Regions from separate parts of the Homo sapiens genome. Here region 2 is linked to region 1. The links are contacts of gene promoters, found by promoter capture Hi-C in blood cells and fetal thymus (Javierre and others, 2016). All regions are on one chromosome and are shown on one strand. The core of a region is centred on a gene start or on the middle of the fragment in contact, and the rest is flanking DNA. Distances in the headings are between cores, read along the strand shown.

What was found. The method cuts DNA at HindIII sites, captures the fragments that hold promoters and counts their contacts. A CHiCAGO score of 5 or more calls a contact.
Region 2: a contact is called between the fragment with the promoter of NKX3-1 here and the fragment with the promoter of CHMP7 in region 1, in 1 of 17 cell types (neutrophils). The highest score is 5.3, in neutrophils.

What each region holds. Positions count from the first base shown.
Region 1 is chr8:23,240,051-23,245,933 of GRCh38, forward strand. CHMP7 (charged multivesicular body protein 7) reads left to right here and starts at 3,587. Exons shown (of 11, transcript NM_152272.5): 1 at 3,587-3,794. RefSeq lists an enhancer at 3,279-3,780. The HindIII fragment of the contact is 15,350 bases long and covers 1-5,883 here.
Region 2 is chr8:23,680,814-23,686,696 of GRCh38, forward strand. It overlaps NKX3-1 (NK3 homeobox 1), which reads right to left and starts at 2,125. Exons shown (of 2, transcript NM_006167.4): 1 at 1,791-2,125; 2 at 1-826. The coding sequence starts at 2,076. The coding sequence ends at 408. All of the region lies in intron 3 of LOC107986930 (a long non-coding RNA gene), which reads left to right. RefSeq lists silencers at 1,707-1,756, 1,797-2,306. The HindIII fragment of the contact is 16,626 bases long and covers 1-5,883 here.

The DNA of each region.
Region 1 (5,883 bases), core at 2,337-4,836:
AATAACCATAAAGGGATTCTGAGTGGAATGCTCCCCACCTCTGACAAATCTAGCCTCTGACAAGCTAGATTTGACAAGCACCTATTGGTGCTTGGTACCAGCATGAGCTTACTTTATGGCTCAAACCTATGGGACAATTTGCTGAGGTCTGAGAGCAACCCACCCCTCACCCCTCCGCCCCACCAAGAGAATTACTATCTTCCCAAATTTGGTTGAAATCTAAAGTTTATTTTGCTATACAACTTTTTTTTTTTGGAGTTTTACTTGCTTCCAACAAGAAAGGCAAGTTTTCCTGCTTCCATGATGATGGAAGATAGGTAACTCCTTTATGGAGTTTGAGCTCACTTCCAACAGGGAAGGTGAGTTTGTTGTTGTTGTTGTTGTTGTTGTTGTTGTTTTGTTTGTTTTTCTGCTTCTAGGATGGTAGAGAGTGGTCTACAGCCTGAGATCCATTCCTAGATAAGCAACTGAATTGGGGTTTATCTTGGCTAAAGTTAAGATTAAAAACCAGCTGGTCTTTATTTCTCCTTACCATTACAGTGCTCAGGAATTATGTTAAGTTGTGAGATTGTTTGTTTTGCTTAACTTTTTTGTTGTTGTTGATGTTTATTTGTTTCTGTTTTTGTTGTTTCAGTCTTTCTCCCGTTGGGTTTGACCAACTCTGTCCAACTCAATCAAATCCGAAGGAAAGTTCCAAATTATGAGGAACAAGGCCTCTAAAGTGGCTAAATTCCCATACACAAAAAAAGGTGGTATAGTGAGGGGAGAAAAACGGCCAACAAAAGAAAAAAAATAAATAAAAACTTTTTTTTTTTTTTTTGAGACGGAGTCGCTCTCTGTCGCCCGGGCTGGAGTGCAGTGGCGCGATCTCGGCTCACTGCAAGCTCTGCCTCCCGGGTTCACGCCATTCTCCTGCCTCAGCCTCCCGAGTAGCTGGGACTAAGGCACCCGCCACTACGCCTGGCTAATTTTTTTGTATTTTTTGGTAGAGACGGGGTTTCACCGTGTTAGCCAGGATGGTCTGGATCTCCTGACCTGGTGATCTGCCTGCCTCGGCCTCCCAAAGTGCTGGGATTACTGGCTTGAGCCACCGCACCCGGCCGGCAAGAAAAATGTTTTATTTTTATTACTTAAGGGGTTTTATTTACATAACAAAGCCTCCTTTTTGCTAACCAGGCCAAACTGAAAGCAATGGCTGTCCCCCTACTCTGCAGTTCAATAGCTAAGGTTCTGCCTTTTTTTTTCTCCTGTCTTCATGACAGCCTAAGTTTGGTTCCTAAATCAAGTCCTTTCTGGTTTGATAGTTGGTACTTCTGCTTTTTTTTTTTTTTTTTTTTTTTTTTTGAGACAGAGTTCCGTTCTTGTTGCCCAGGCTGGAGTCCAATGGCGTGGTCTCAGCTCACCGTAACCTCCGCCTCCCGGGTTCAAGCAATTCTCCTGCCTCAGCCTCCCGAGTAGCTGGGATTATAGGCATGTGCCTTTTGAATTTCTTAGTAGAGATGGGGTTTCTCCATGTTGGTCAAGCTGGTCTCGAACTCCTGAGCTCAGGTGATCCACCAGCGTCGGCCTCCCAAAGTGCTGGGATTACAGGTGTGAGCCACCGCGCCGGACCAATACTTGGTACTTCTGAAATAGCAGCAATTTGTCCTAGCTGAAATATAATAATAAAATTTTGAATTTTTTTTTTTTGAGACAGAGTCTTGCTCTGTCGCCAGGCTGGAGTGCAGTGGCACGATCTTGGCTCACTGCAAACTCTGCCTCCCGGGTTCAAGCGATTCTCCTGCCTCAGCCTCCTGAGTAGCTGGGACTACAGGCGCGTGCCACCACACTCGGCTAATTTTTGTATTTTTAGTGGAGACGGGGTTTCACCATGTTAGCCAGGATGGTCTCCATCTCCTGACCTCATGATCCGCCCGCCTGGGCCTCCCAAAGTCCTGGGATTACAGGCATGAGCCACTGCACCCAGCCCAAGATTTTTTATTTTTAAAGACACTCAATAGTTAAAAGTCAACTTAATTAAAAGCTAATATTTAAAATGTATGTGTATGTGTATGTGTGCATAAGTGCATGTTCATATTTAAAAGGCCTTCATGGTTTTGTTTTTGTTTTTCTCTGCTAGGACCTTGTCTTTTTTTGAGCAAAAACTTTTTTTGTTCTCAATTGACTCAATTCTGTTTCCACTCGATTTTTTTTTTTTTTTTTACTAAAATAGTTATTGCAACAGAGGCTACTCTTGGGTTTTTAAGAAAGAGTATAGTTTAGACACTTAGAAATGCTTTGTTTACAAAAATGTTTTAAGTGCACTGTAAAAGCATCATGTGGTCTAGCCTCATAATAATTCTCCCTTTTTGGAGACCCAGGATTCAGTGTGGGCTCTGCCCAGAGCTCAGAGATCCAGTTAAAAAAGAATTGGTAGTCCCTATCTAAATAACAGTGGTCTCCTTATACAATCCAGTGATAAATTTCTATAATTTTATGTTCAATTGGCAATTAAATCTGTTTTAATTTCCCTCTAGCTCACAGAATTTCTCTTCAGACCTTATAATGTAAATTTTGCTATCTGACTTTCACCTGAGTTGTTTCCTTTAATATGCAAATTTAAGACTATTTAGCTGACTACTGCCTAGCACTGTGAAACAGGTTATCAAGAATCTGAAAGTCTAAGATAAAGAAAAAAGGTTTTTATGAATCTGTAAGATGTACTTCTTCTATCAGCATGCCTAATACATCTATGTATTTATATGTTATGTATACAATGTTGCACTCCTGAAAATATATCAAAGAGCTCTAATTAATTGTCTTAAAAAATAAAAGCATTTACATCAAATACTTTATTAGAAAAAGGAAAGACTAGTCAAATGCTTTTTCAAGTTATGTGACTTAAGTAAAATCTTTAATAAATAAGCTATCTTTAAAATTATTGGTAAAGTAATATTAGAAATGTCTTAGGAATTGCCAGCATACATTTTTATTTGCGTTTATTAATCAAGCAATTTCATACTTAACCCTGCCAAATACTATTAGGTGTCAAAATTTGGCACAGGCTATAAACCCAGCCCAAGACAGAATGATCTCTGCTCGTGTAACCATTAATAAATAAGACATTGATACTGGTTTAATGAAAATAGCTACATCTTGATTTAGTAAAATTACCATAACTTCTAATCTTGTGGCAGTCTAGGCAGTCTAGTCCACAGGCAGTAAGGAGTTTTGTTTTGGGAAAGGACTGTTATACTTTGTTTCAAAGTTAAACTATAAGTAAACTTGCATGGGAAGAGAATGTTTAATTTTGTGAAAAACGACCAAACTGTCTTCCAAAGTAGCTCTTAGAGACAACCTGTCCACAGAAGAACGCAGCAAGCCCCCTCCCCTAAATGCCCTGCAGCTTATTTCTTCTGAGATGCTGCCCCTACTTCACGTTACCAGAACTTAGGTACAGCTGTATCCACCCCCAGGCCAAACCACATCCTGGTACTCTAAGCCAGGTGGGGCAAGAAGTGACAAACAACTGCAGGATGTAGACTAACCTCAGAAAGCCCCTAGGCCCTCAAAGCCCTATATAAGTCCCTCACCTTAAACACCCTGGGCTGCCTCCTCTGACTGTTATGCAGCAGGCCGGCAGGTCAATAAACTTGCTTGCCTGACTTTGAGTATACTCGTCTTTTCTCTTGGCCAACCTTACGGTAGCTGTACCAGTTTGCATTTCCACCAGCAATGAATGAGAGTTCCTGTTGCTCTGCATCCTCACCAGCATTTGGTGTGGTCAGTATTTTGGATTTTCACCATTCTAATAGGTGTGTAGTAGTATGCTATTCTTGTCTAATTTGCTGTTCCCCAATGACATATGATGTTGGGCATATTATCATATACTTATTTGCCGTTGGTAGATCTTCTTTGGTGAGAGGTCTGCTCAGATCTTTTATCCATGTTTTAACTGGGTTATTCTTTTTCTTTTTTTTTTGAGTCTTAAGAGTTCCTCGTGTGTTTTGGATAACAGTCCTTTATCAGAGATGTCTTTTGCAAATAGTTTCTACCAGTCTGTGGCTTATCTTCACATTCTCTTCACAGTGTCTTTCAGAAAGCAAATAATAATAATAATAATAATTACGTCTAATTTATCAATTATTTCTTTCATGGATTATGCTTTTTGTGTTGTATCTAAAAAGTAATCATGATGCCCAAGGTCATCTAGATGTTTTGTCTTCTAGGAGTTTTATTGTTTTGTGTTTTTACATTTAAGTCCATGATCCATTTGAGCTGGCTTTTGTGAATGGTGTAAGATCTGTACCTGGATTTGTTTTTGTTTTTGCATGTAGGTGTACAGTTGTTCCAGTGCTCATTGTTGAAAAGACTCTTTGAACCATTGTATTGCCTTTCTTTTTTCGAAAGGTCAGTTGACTGTATTTACATGTGCCTATTTCTGGGATTCCTATTCTGTTCCATTTATCTATTTGTTTATTCTTTAACTAATACCACACTATCTTGATTACTGTTGATTTATAGTAATTCTTGAAGTTGGGTTGTATCCGTCCTCTGACTTATTTGTTCAATATTGTGTTGGCTCTTCTGGGTCTTTTGCCTTTCCACATAAACTTTAGAATTAGTTTGTTGATATCCACAAAATAACTAGCCATGATTTTCACTGGGATTTCACTGGATCTACAGATCAATTTGGGAAGAATTGATATCTTGATAATATTGAGTTTTCCTGTCCATGAATATAAAATGCCTCTGTATTTATTTAGTCCTTCATAGATTTCTTTCATCAGAATTTTGTAGTTTTCCTTATGTAGAATTTGTACATACCGTGTTAGATTTATACCTAAGTTTTATAGGGGGGTGCTAATGTAAATGGTATTGCATTTTTAATTTCATATTCCACTTGATCATTATAGGTATATGGGAATTGACTTTTATACATTAACTTTGTATCTGCAATCTTGTTCTCATTGCCTCTTAGTTCCAGGACATCGATTTGGCAATTCTTTCATAATTTTCTGCATGGATAATTATGTCTTCTATAAAGACAGACCATTTTATTTCTTCCTCTTCAGTCTGTACAACTTTTATTTCTTTTTCTTGGCTAACTGTGTTAGCTAGGATTTCCCGTACAGTGTTGACTAGGAATGGTGTGAGCAGACATTCTTGTGTTATTCCTGATTCCACTGGAAAACGATCTAGGTTTTCACCATTAATTCTTATGTTGGCTGTAAGGTTCCTGTTTATGTTCTTTATCAAGTGGAGGATGTGTCCCTCTATTCCTAGAGTGCCGAGACTTTTTATCATGAGCTGGTGTTGGATTTTGTCAAATGCTTTTTCTGCATCTAGCAATATGATCATATGATTTTTCTTTAGTCTGTTGGTGGATTATATTAATTGATTTTTGAACATTGAACTAGCCTTGCCTAGCTGTAATAAATTCCGCTTTAACCTGGTGTACAATTCTTTTGATACATTGTGGGTTTCAATTTGCTAACATTCTATTGATGATTTTTGCATCTATATTCACAAGATATATTGTTTTGTGTTTTTTCTTTCTTGTAATGTCTTTGTGTGGTTTTGGCGTTAGGGTAATCCTTGCCTCATAGGATCAGTTGGGAAGTATTCCTTTTGTTTCTATCTTATAAAAGAGATGGCACAGAACTGGTACAACTTTTTTCTTAAATATTTGGTAGAACTTATCAAATGAAACCATCTGGGCCTAATGCTTTCTGTGTGGATGTTGTTAATTATTGATTCAATTAATTAGATATAAACATATTCAAGTGGTCTGTTTCCTCTTGTGTGTTTTGGCAGAGTGTGCTTTCAAGAAATGTGTCCATTTCGTCTAGGTTATCAAATTTGTGGACATACAGTTATTCATAGTATTCCTTTATTATCATT
Region 2 (5,883 bases), core at 875-3,374, 440 kb after region 1:
CATCCTGGTTGTCCTTTCTCCTGTTAGGTTTGCTCTTTCAGAGTTGATATTCAGTGACACAGGAGGATGGAGTTGCAGAACAGAATCCTTGGGTGTACAACTCATCCAAAATCATACAAAGTGCTGGAAAATACCACTTGATTTTCCCTCTCTCCCCTTCAAACAGGTAGCCAGAAGCAAAAAAAATGACCTACAGTATGCACTGGAGGAATGACTTAGGTATTAAAACTTTCACTGTCTCTGTTGTTTCATTGTCTCACCAGTGAAGAATCTGAGATTTCCACGCAAATCTCCAATAGCTTTGGTGTGCACACCTCTTGCTCCCTGACCTTGGCCCCTTGTGCTTTTCATAGAGACACCCTGGGGAAGGCAGTTTTTGATCATAATGGTTGTCACCTGAGCTGGCATTACCAAAAAGCTGGGCTCCAGCTGCCCACGCAGTACAGGTATGGGTAGTAAGGATAGCTGTTATACACGGAGACCAGGGAGGCCCGGGAGAAGGCCTCCTCTTTCAGGGCCGGCAAAGAGGAGTGCTTCTCCAAGTCTCCCAGCTCCGAGGAGAGCTGCTTTCGCTTAGTCTTATAGCGTCTGTTCTGGAACCATATCTTCACTTGGGTCTCCGTGAGCTTGAGGTTCTTGGCCAGGTGGGCCCGTTCAGGGGCCGACAGGTACTTCTGATGGCTGAACTTCCTCTCCAACTCGATCACCTGAGTGTGGGAGAAGGCAGCTCGGGAGCGCTTCTGCGGCTGCTTAGGGGTTTGGGGAAGCCTTGGAAGGGCGCCTGAAGTGTTTTCAGAGTCCAACAGATAAGACCCCAAGTGCCTTTCTGGAAAGGAGAGTGGGGAAGGAGGGATGGGAAGACAAAAGTTACATGTTAGCAGGGAAGAGAACAGAATTCAATCCACCCTTATCTCTTTAGTGAGTGAACAAACAGCCCACTGTCATCGTGGATACATTTCACTTTTTTCACATGACTAAGGAGCTCTCCGGAGTGAAGAGTGAGTAAATATGTTTATTACGCATTCATTTGCTAAGAATCATCAAGAACCCAAAGTTAGAGACGTTTCGTGGTTGAACTTTCTCCCTACTGTCTAGTAGAATTATATGGGGATTCTGGATCTGTGTGCTGAGGAGAGGCGGGAGAGGGAGGCAGGGAAAATGCCGTGGAACAAGATACCCGGGAAGGCCAGACCAAAAGACATCCGGTGTTAGGATCCAGGTGGGCAAGAGAGGGCTTGTGCCACTGGAGACGCAGAGGCAGGCTCATTCTGGGCTTTAATTCCCTCTTCGCTAAACGAGGCGTTCGGTCGCCTCATCAGAAGTGACAGGAAAGAAAATAAGTGGACTCTCTCTCCTGGACACCGGAGGGAACCCCGAATATACCGCTTTACTGCCCACGGGATTGGGAAGCACACGGAGGCTTTGCTGGTCAACCCCTGCTTTGTCACTGTTAATAAGTTATTATTAGTTCTCATAACTACCGGGGGGCTGGCGCCGATCGCGGGTGGCGCGGGGCGGGATCCGCTCCTGGGACGGTGGAGGGCGGTGGCGCTGCAGTCGCGCCGGCTTCTGAGCCCCAGGGAGCGGAGGGCACGGAGCCGGGCGAGTCCTGCGGTGTCAGAATCCTGCGCCGCCCTGACGCTGGGGCTCAGGGTTCATTCCGGGGGCGCGCGCGTGGCTGCGGAGGCGGGAAGGTCCCTCTGCCTGTCGCCGCGGAGCCCCGCGTCCCTGCACCCCGAGCTCTGGGGGTCCGCCTTGGGCTGCCCCCCTTCCCCGGCCTCGCCGCTTACCTGGCTCGGTCTCTGCCAGCGTCTCGGCCTCCTCCGGCGCGGCGCGGGGCCCGGTGCTCAGCTGGTCGTTCTGCGCCCCGGCGCGGCTGCGTCCTCCCTCTGGCTCTGGCTCTGGCTCCGGCTCCGGGTCGCGCTGTCTCTGGCTGCTCGTGCGGCCGCCTTGCCGCTGCGCGCCGTCCCGCAGGATGTCCTGGATGAGGAAGGACGTGAGCGGCTTGGACGGGGTCGGCGGCGCGGCCCCCTCCGCTTTCGCCTCCCCGGGCCGCGGCTCCGGAACCCTGAGCATCCCGGCGGCCCCGCCTTGGCCTGAATGCACCCGCCCGGCCCGCACCGCTTTCACTTTCCGCCTCCCGGCTCGCTTATAGCCCAGGGGAGCGGGCCGCGCCGCCCTCCCATTGGCCGCGGGACGGGCCGCGCCGCGGATTGGCCGCCCTGAGCCCCAGGTGACCCCGCCGATCTGCGAGCCCTGAGCACTGCCCCGCTCCGCTCCTCCCTAGGGGATTCCTTCCCCAGTTCCCTCTCCTTCCCCAATTCCCTCTCCTTCCCCAATTTCCTCTCCTTCTCCAGCTCTCCTCCCTCCGCCCTGAGCCGTTTTCCCAGGCCAGGAGCGCACCCCAAAGCGGGGCTCCTCTGCCCCAACCCACCCGCAACAGAGAGAAGCTCCTGGGGATGGGACGATCAAGACAAACAGTCCAGTTAGCTCTTCAGGACCGTCAGAGCCAATTACAGGGGATGAGCACGCAGTCACTGCAGCCGCGCGGTACCGTGAGAGTTCTGGGTGCTCTCTCTCTCTGGGAGAGATGGTGCAAACTCAGATCTGCAATATCTACGACCTCAAAGAGGCATGACAAGTAGGTGCAGCCAGACCCCAGGCTGAAAGAAGGAAAACACCTTTGCCAAAGCCTTTTCCCGTTGCAGAAGTGGTTTTCTTTGGTGGTTCCTTTATCCGCAATAACCTGTTAACTTTCCTTCCTCCCCAGACACATGACATACCATCCTTTTGAAAAGTTTCCAGACGGATGGAAGGCGTTTTAGGCCAGGACAAATGCAAAAACTGCATTTAAAAAAGTAGTTCAAAAGAACATCAGCATACTCTTTTTGCAGATTACCAACTGTTAACATGTAACCCATTGGCTAAACAATGGGTTAGCCAGATTGGTCCAACCGGTACTGTGACTGGACTGGACGGTACCGTGACAACAGACGAAAGTGGAACAGAGATGATGGAAGTATTTTCTTTCCTTGTCTTTTCTCTTCTTTTTTTTACGGACAGGGTCTCCCTCTGCCGCCCAGGCTGGAGTGCAGTGATGCCATCATAACTCACTGCAGCCTCGATTTCCTGGATTCAAGTGATCCTCCTGCCTTGGCCTCTCAAAGTGCCAGGACTACAGGCATGAGTCTCAGTGTCAGGTCGATGATGGAAGTATTGAATTAATGTTAAATTTACTGAAATTGCACATTGTACTGTCAGTGTACAAGAGAATATTTTTAGGAAATAAACACTGAAGTAAGTAGGAGCAAAGGCACAAGATTTATGAAACTTACATCAAATGGTTCTGAAACAAGGATGCAGATTGATAGATCCCACGCCATAAAGCCGATGGGTTAAATGGTAACAGTTGGTAATCTGGAAAAAGGGTAGGCTGATGTTTTTTAGAACCATTTTTTTAATGCAACTTTTTTGTCTGTCCTGGTCTAAGACGGCTTCTATTCAACTGGCAACTTTTCAAAAGGATGGTATGTCATGTGTCTCTGGAGGAAGGAAAGTTAATAGGTTATTGCTGATAAAGCGACCGCCAAAGAAAACTACCTGTGCAACGGGAAAGACTTTGGCAAAGCTGGTTTTCTTCTCTCATCTTTTCAAAGTCTCTTTATATTAGAACATTCTTTAATGTTTTCTTTTGAATCATTGTAGATTCACAGGAAGTTGCAAAAATAATACCTCCAGTGTCCTCCAAAGACATCTATACAACTGTAGGACAATGTAGAAAACAGGAAATTTACGTTGGGACATTACAGTTAACTAGACTACAGACGTCATTTATTTATTTATTTAGAGATAGGGTCTTGCTCTGTTGCCCAGGCTGGAGTGCAGTGGAGAGATCATGGCTCACTGCAACTTCAACCTCCTGGGCTCAGGAGATTCTCCCACCTCAGCCTCCTGAATAGCTGGGACTACAGGTGTGTGCCACCCTGCCCAGTTAATTTTTGTAGTTTTTGTAAAGATAAGGTTTCACCCTGTTGCCCAGGCTGGTCTCAAAGCCCTGGGCTCAAACAATCCTTCCGCCTCCACCACCCAAAGTGCTGAGACTACAGGTGTGAGCCACTGTGCTGGGCCTTATTGTGGTTTAAATTTTTAATTTGCATTTCACAAATGCCTAGAGATGTTGAATACCTTGTCATGTGCTTGTTTGCCATCCATATTTCCTCTTTGGTGAAATATCTGTTCAAGCCTTTTGCTCATATTATAATTGAATTTTTCTTTCTTTTATTTTTTAACCATTGAGTTATGATAGTTCTTTATATATTGCTGTTTGTAAGTCTTTGTTTGGTAGGTTATTTGCAAATATTATCTCCCAGTCTGTAGCTTGTGTTTCCATCCCTCTAACAGGATCTTCAACAGAACAAAAGATTTTAATTTCATTGAAGATCAATTTATGAATTTTTGAATTTTACAGAATGTGATTTTGATGTCCTGCCTAAGAACTCTTTGTTTAGTCCTAATACTGAAGATTTGCTCCTATGTTATCTTCTAAAAGTTTTATGCTTTACTCTTCAATCCATGATTCCTTCAGAATTAATTTTTGTATATAGTGTGAGGTTTAGATTGAGATGGCCTCCTTTTATTTCTAAAATTGAGAGTTGGGTATGAATTATTTAATAACAAGTGCTGCCATTTGGAAAAGATAAAGTCCTATTCTTATGACAAAATAAATTCCAGACAGCTCAAAGATGTAAAACACAAACGAGCACGTGAAAAAAATATTTTAACTACACTTCATCAGTGAAGGAATGCAAATCAAAATCACATTGAGACGAGCCTTTTCCACCTTTCAGATTGACAAAGGTTAAAAAAAATGGATAATGTCCAGTGTAAGTGAGAGTGTGGAGGAACAGCTGCTCTCATACAGCCATGCACTGCATCGTGACGTTTGATCAGTGACAGACAGCATATATGACGGTGGTTCCATAAGGTTATGATACTGTATTTTTACTGTACCTTTTTATGTTTAGATATGTTTACATGCACAAATTCTTACCATTGTATTACCTTTGCTTACAGTATTCAGTACAGTAACATGCTGTACATGTCTGTAGCCTAGGAGCAATAGGGCATACCATGTAGCCTAGGTGTGTAGTAGACTACATCCATCTAAGTTTGTGTAAGTAGCTCTATGATGTTTGCACAGCAATGAAATTGCCTAACATTGCATCTCTCAGAACATATTCTTGTCCCTAAGGATGCATGACTGTTTTTGGATGACAACTTGGGAATATTTGTCAAAATTAAAACTGAGCATATCCTTTGACACAGCTATTCTGTGTTTGGCAATGTGCCCTAGAAGTGCACAAATACACAATGTATTGACTTGGGAACATATCTTCAATTTGGTCAGAGACTGGTTCAAGCTGCAAAGCATGTTATAGATGAAACCCATTGTATAAAACAGCACTATAAGTTACCTATATAATGTTTTTCATTTGAACACTTTAACATACAGAATATATCAGGAACAAGATTTATACATATGTATTCTTTTTTTCCATAGAGTAGTTACCTCTGCTCAGTGAGATGGAGACAGTAGGTTGGGAGAGGGACAGGAGGATAGTGGAACAGGGTGTATTTCCTTGTACTCATTGATAATTTTAAAAAATGAAAAATATCAAGTTGGAGCTGAGCCTGGACTGCCCTCCTCCACCGCGTCCTCCTCAGGCCTGTGAGTGGGGCCACAGCTCGTGGTCCTCGGCCTCACCTCACTGCATCTTTTCTCCCCTTGTGCTTTGTATTTGGGGGTGTGGATGGCTCATCTTCTTTATGAGACTATGAGCTCCCTGAGAAGGGACTGTATCCTCCTCATATTTGTACCATCTC